Linked DNA regions of Homo sapiens: region 2 is linked to region 1. The links are contacts of gene promoters, found by promoter capture Hi-C in human tissues and cell types (Jung and others, 2019). All regions are on one chromosome and are shown on one strand. Each heading gives the region's core, a stretch centred on a gene start or on the middle of the fragment in contact. The rest is flanking DNA. Distances are from core to core; before and after follow the strand shown.

Region 1 (2,890 bases), core at 161-2,660:
TCAGCCTCCCAAACTGCTGGGATGACAGGTGTAAGCCACCATGCTAGGCTCAGAAATTTCCTTTTATAAAAATGTCATTAAGGATCTTGGCTGCACAATATCATTACCAGCTTCCTTTAAATCCACCTCTGGCCTGCCAGGAATCAGGGTTCTTCAGAACCTGACATTTTAAATGAAGAGGTCAGGCAGGTCATGAGGAAAGCCTCATTGTCCCCATGTCTCTGTCACTGCTGCACCCCTGAGACATCACAGACATGGACACTGGGGCCTGCTTGTTTCTCAAACTGCCCTTAGATCGAAAGAGGGAGGAACCAGGATGAATGCCACTCATTTTCCCAAGAAAGGCCCTCTCCTGAGTGCCCGGGATGGGGCTCTGTCCATTGCCTGGGGCCGCCAATTGCTACTCTGGGTTACGGAGGAAGGACAGGGTCCTGAGAGACACCAGAGACCTCACACAGCCCTGAAAACATGGGGCTCCTTCATAAGTGTTTCCCATCACCAACAGGGAGACCACGTGGAGGCCTTGCAGCCCCACTCGGTGCTTCTCCACCAAATCCCAAGGGCAGTGACGCTGACGTCTGTGGAAAGCAGAGAAAGCCCTGGCTCCCAAAGCCCTGAAGTCCTGTGGAGCTGACATTCCCTGAGTGACGGTGTGAATGGAAGGAACTCAAGTGCGGGTGGTAGGCCACCTCCTGGCCCAGGCCTGGGTGAACTCTGAGGGGACACATGTAGTCACAATCCCATCCTCCCATTCTCCTTCTCAGAGGAAGGAAGTGGGCATCCATCTGCCTCATCTCTCTCCCGTGGGGAAGATGGGGAGTTTCAGGGGAACTTTCACATAAATTTCACCAGCTCAGATCTCCTGTGAGGATGGGGCCCACCATGCTCCCGGTGCTGCCAGAGGCCCTGAGCCCCTCCCAGGGTCCCTGGGTTTGAGCCAGCCCTGTATCATCCCCAGGAGCTGAATGTCCGAGCAATGGATAGAATTAGATGGAAAGAGCTCTCAATTTGGCCTGAGACTGTCCCCAGATACTCAGGAAAAACAGGACGTCGCACAGAGTGGGCAGCAGGTGAGTGGCAGGTTATAGGTCCTGAGTTTGAGTTTGTTCTCACGTGAGACAGACCCAGCCCCTCACTCCATTCACACACTGGGTTTTAAATGGTGCAAGATAGGAGGAATTTTCTGGTCCCAAGAGCAGGAGGAAGGGATTTTCTGGGGTTTCCTGAGTCCAGATTTGCATAAGATCTCCTGAGTGTGCATTGTTCTTTGAGGACCATTCTCTGACTCACCAGGTAAGTGGCTGAATTCTAACCTCTGTAATGAGCATTGCACCCAATACCAGTTCTGAACTCTACCTGGTGACCAGGGACCAGGACCTTTATAAGGTGGAAGGCTTGATGTCCTCCCCAGACTCAGCTCCTGGTGAAGCTCCCAGCCATCAGCCATGAGGGTCTTGTATCTCCTCTTCTCGTTCCTCTTCATATTTCTGATGCCTCTTCCAGGTGAGATGGGCCAGGGAAATAGGAGGGTTGGCCAAATGGAAGAATGGCGTAGAAGTTCTCTGTCTCCTCTCATTCCCCTCCACCTATCTCTCCCTCATCCCTCTCTCTCCTTCCTCTCTCTGTGTGTCCCCTCCATCCTTTTCTCCTGCTTCTCTCTCTTCTTCCCTCTCTCTCTTTTTTTCTGTCTTTCTTTTTCCTCTCTCCCTAGAGCATGTCTTTCTTTCTTTCTCTTTCCTTTCTTCTACCCACACTTTTAGACTGAATGCCCTATTTAATTGAACCAAGCATTGCTTCCTTCAATAGAAAAGGAGTTTGAGAACCCAATGGACACCTCACTCGTTCTTCTAAGCCAATATGAAGGAGCCCAGTAGCTTGTAAATATCATCTCTTCACTGCTTTCCATGCTACAACTGCTGAGACTATGGTTGAAACCTGTTAGGTGACTTTTTAAATAAAAGGCAGAAATTTTGATTTTATCTAAAGAAAGTAGTATAGAATGTCATTTTCTAAATTTTTATATTTAAAGGGTAGATACTGCAACCTAGAGAATTCCAGATAATCTTAAGGCCCAGCCTATACTGTGAGAACTACTGCAGCAGACACTCTGCCCCCAGGACTTTTCTGATCAGAGGCCCTGAGAACAGTCCCTGCCACTAGGCCACTGCAGGTTCACAGGACAGGGACAGCCCATTGAAACCAACTTTTAAACCTGGATGCCTAACCTTCATTTTCTCCTTGATATTATGAAAATAAAATAAAAACCATGAAAGGATAAAAGAGGGAGAGTGGAAGGGAAGGATGGAGAAAGGGAAAAAGAAAATTTGAGAGTAAATCCTAAAACAATTAATCTAATAGATATCATCTTGTGAAATCCTCATTTTACCAATCTTATTTATGAGTCCTGGGTTTTGTGAGAACAATGGGGTTCTGAGAGGCACCAGAGACCTCATGTTTTCCAAAACCTAGAACAGTATAATGAAGGAAGGCGGGGAGGCAGGGAGGCAGGGAGGCAGGGAGGCGGGCAGGTGGGGAGGGAGGGAGGGAAGGAGGGAGGGAGGGAGGGAGGGAGGGAGGGAGGGATAAAAAAAGAAGAATGAGGTTGAAACCAGGACTTAGATATTAGAAACAAGCCATTACAAAATTTATTTCTATGGTTAATTGTGGTTTTCAACTGTAAGTTACTTGGTGTTAATTTCCTATTAAACAATTTCAGTAAGTTGCATCTTTTTATCCCATCTCAGATCAAATACTTAACAGACTAAATGATTTGAAAAAGCAAAAGTTTACTGGCTTGTGTGTGTTAAAATGGAGGTATGGTGGCTTTGATATTATCTTCTTGTGGTGGAGCTGAATTCACAAGAGATCGTTGCTGAGCTCCTACCAGACC
Region 2 (2,969 bases), core at 402-2,901, 460 kb before region 1:
TTTCCTTATTTCTCTGAAGACAAAGTTTTTGGAAGGAATTGGGATAGCCCCTGAGGGATGCATGAAAACCTTAGAGATAGATTTGGTGGACAGATGCCATTTGGGGTAGAGGGACTGAAAAGGCCCAAGGCTTGGATGACATGAAAGCAAAGGGCATATTCCAAGAGAGTGAAGAGTCCAACTTCACTGGGGCATAACGTTCACAAAGTAGGAATAGAACCTGATAACCCTTGGATAATAAGGTTGGGCTCCCTTATAGATTTCTCCAGAGATTCTACTTTCTTTGAACGAAAGGTGAGTCCTTAAGATTTTCTGAGTTGTCTGTTTGGAAACAAGTACCAAAATAATCAGATTTAAAAAAAAAAATCAAGCTCCTAATTTTTTTTGAAAAAAAAATGTAATTTGATTTTACTTTTATAAACTTTAAGAAGGCATTTCCACACTTTACAACACTCTCGTCATGTTTCAGGGTTTTTATTTCTTTCTTCGGCAGCATTTTCGGCCACGCGTCGAGCACTTGCCGATCTGTTCCTCCTTTGGAAGGCAGCTGAGCACAGCACACCGGCCGCCTCTGACTCTGCAATAATATTTCTGTAATGTGTTTATGATTCCTCCATGACCTGCAATGACAAAACAGCACACACGGAAAGGTTTTAGGAAGGCTTTTGGTACACGTACAAGGCTTGTGGAATTCCTCAAATAACTCATCCCTTGCTTTTCTTGTATTCTTTTGTTTCTTTTTCCTTTTTCTATAAAATCAGGAGGAAGATGAAGGTATGACTACACAACCCATAGACAATGTTTCTAAGGCTGCAGCTCAGCTGTGGACCCACAGTGGCACCGGGGAAGTGGCGTGACCCTGTGACTGCCGCAGGAACAGTGGGGGTGCTGAGGCTGTGGTGTCCTCAGAGGTAGCCCCAACACTCCACCTCCAACCATTGCACTTAGTAGAACAGGAGCCTGTGCTTCTATTCTCAGAGTAAATCAATCTTTCCTGCTACATTAAACTTTTATGTCTGATTCATGTCTCATCAGCTGGTATAATAATCTTCCCTTGAAGAGTTGGGGAAAGAGATAGCTTTGGGGAGCTATTTAGTTTCTTAATGATTCTTTTCTTTTTTTTTTTTTTTGAGGTGTACTCTCACCCTGTCACCCAGTCTGGAGGACAGTGGCGTGATCTCGGCTTACTGCAACCTCCGCCTGCCAGGTTTAAGCAATTCTCTGCCTCAGCCTCCCGAGTAGCTGGGATTACAGGTGCCCGCCACTGTGCCCAGATAATTTTTGTATTTTTAGTAGAGATGGGGTTTCACCATCTTGGCCAGGCTGGTCTTGAACTCCTGACCTCGTGATCCGCCCACCTCGGCCTCCCAAAGTGTTGAGATTACAGGCATGAGCCACCGCACCTGGCCTCTTAATGATTCTTGTCTGAAAAAAAAGTGGTGATGCCTAGTTCCCATACAACAAACCTGCTTGGTCCAAAGCACTCTGAAGGATGGAGAAATACTGACTCTGAATTATATATTCTCAATTAGATCAATCCTTAGATTTCCCAGCCCATCTTACCTGGAACAGGCACCAAAAACAGGAAGAGCAAAGCAAACAGAAGATAATGGATCCTCATAGCTGCTAGGCTTCACCCCACGCTGAGACTGGATGAAAAGGTGTGCTTGGTCACTTTATAAAGGTTCCAGCCACAGCTGCAATTCTTGTCATATTACAGTGATGACATTATGACATGTTTTCTGATGCATCATTCCAATGCCTCTCACCATGCAGAACACACCCACTCACTCAGTTAATTAGGAACCCAATGGTAAGGCAGAGCTCCCTATGGATTTGTGGCTGTCCGGGTGCTCTCTGGACTCCAGGGGCTTGTCTGGGTGTGGGTCAGATTGGGTTGTGGGTACAGATAGGGCTGGCATGAGCAAGTATGCCCCCTTTGGGGAATAGTCTCAGGGCATGTGGCTGGGGGCTGACTTGTCCGTACTTTGCTGCTTTGGAGCTTTTTTTCTCTTCCTAAAATGCTGGGAGAGTCTAAGACCCTCCTGGGGACCAAATAAATCCAGCCCTGGACATATTCAATATCTGGCAATAGGACTGGCTTTTTGGTAGTGAGGTAAGGGAGGAAAATGGGCTACATTCAAGGTTAGCTGACCACCTGGCCCTTGGCCTATGATGGGGTGCTATAATTTGAGTGAAACATGTCTCATTCTTTCATTTTTTTTTTTTTTTTTTGAGAGACAGAGTCTCACTTTTTTGTGCAGGCTGGAGTGCAGTGGCATGATTACAGCTCACAACAGCTTGAGCTGTCAGGCTCAAGAGGTCCTCCCACTTCAGCCCCCTGAGTAGCTGGGACCACAAACGCATGCCTCCACACATGGCTAAATTTTAAATTTTCTGTAGAAAATAAAATGGGGTCTCACTATGCTGCCCAGACTGGTTTCGAGCCCAGATGTGAACTCCTGGGCTCAAGCAATCCTCCTGCTTCAGCCTCCTAAATTGCTGGGATTACTGGTATGAGCCACTGTGTGCGGCCCATGTCCGATTCTTCATCATTGTCTAAAACCTACCAAATTTATGAGTAAAGAAGGTGTTTAATTTTACTTCATCAGAGAAAGAGGATGCTGGGATGATAGATTTAATAGACTGGCATCTCCTCCTAGTCAATGACTGTCCCTGTGCAAAAGAGGGGCTTCAGAATAGACATTTAAGACCTCAAGTTACTCTTGGCTCAGGAGCATTCAAGGCAGTCCAGGGGCCAGATGATTTCCCCTGCATATAGATTCAACGTTTAGAGGGAAAAATGCTAAAAAAGAAAAAAAAAACAGCTATTAAACTTAAATGTTCAGGAATCCAATGGATGGGTTGTATTTGGTTGACTATCAATTGGGAACTAAGTAAGTCAATGACAATTCAATTGGGAGCTGAAGTCACCGTGATGTCTCCTAGCTGCTGCTTCGTGTGAATGC

Evidence for each region. The method cuts DNA at HindIII sites, captures the fragments that hold promoters and counts their contacts. A contact is called where the count stands out against the background at its distance.
Region 2: the fragment with the promoter of DEFB103A here is called in contact with the fragment with the promoter of DEFB4B in region 1 in 6 of the 25 tissues and cell types used here (H1 embryonic stem cells, dorsolateral prefrontal cortex, hippocampus and 3 more).

What each region holds. Positions count from the first base shown.
Region 1 is chr8:7,415,383-7,418,272 of GRCh38, reverse strand. DEFB4B (defensin beta 4B) reads left to right here and starts at 1,410. Exons shown (of 2, transcript NM_001205266.2): 1 at 1,410-1,503. The coding sequence starts at 1,446. The HindIII fragment of the contact is 11,162 bases long and covers 1-2,890 here.
Region 2 is chr8:7,880,074-7,883,042 of GRCh38, reverse strand. It overlaps DEFB103A (defensin beta 103A), which reads right to left and starts at 1,651. Exons shown (of 2, transcript NM_001081551.4): 1 at 1,564-1,651; 2 at 380-620. The coding sequence starts at 1,621. The coding sequence ends at 475. It also overlaps the pseudogene LOC124901865. The HindIII fragment of the contact is 16,891 bases long and covers 1-2,969 here.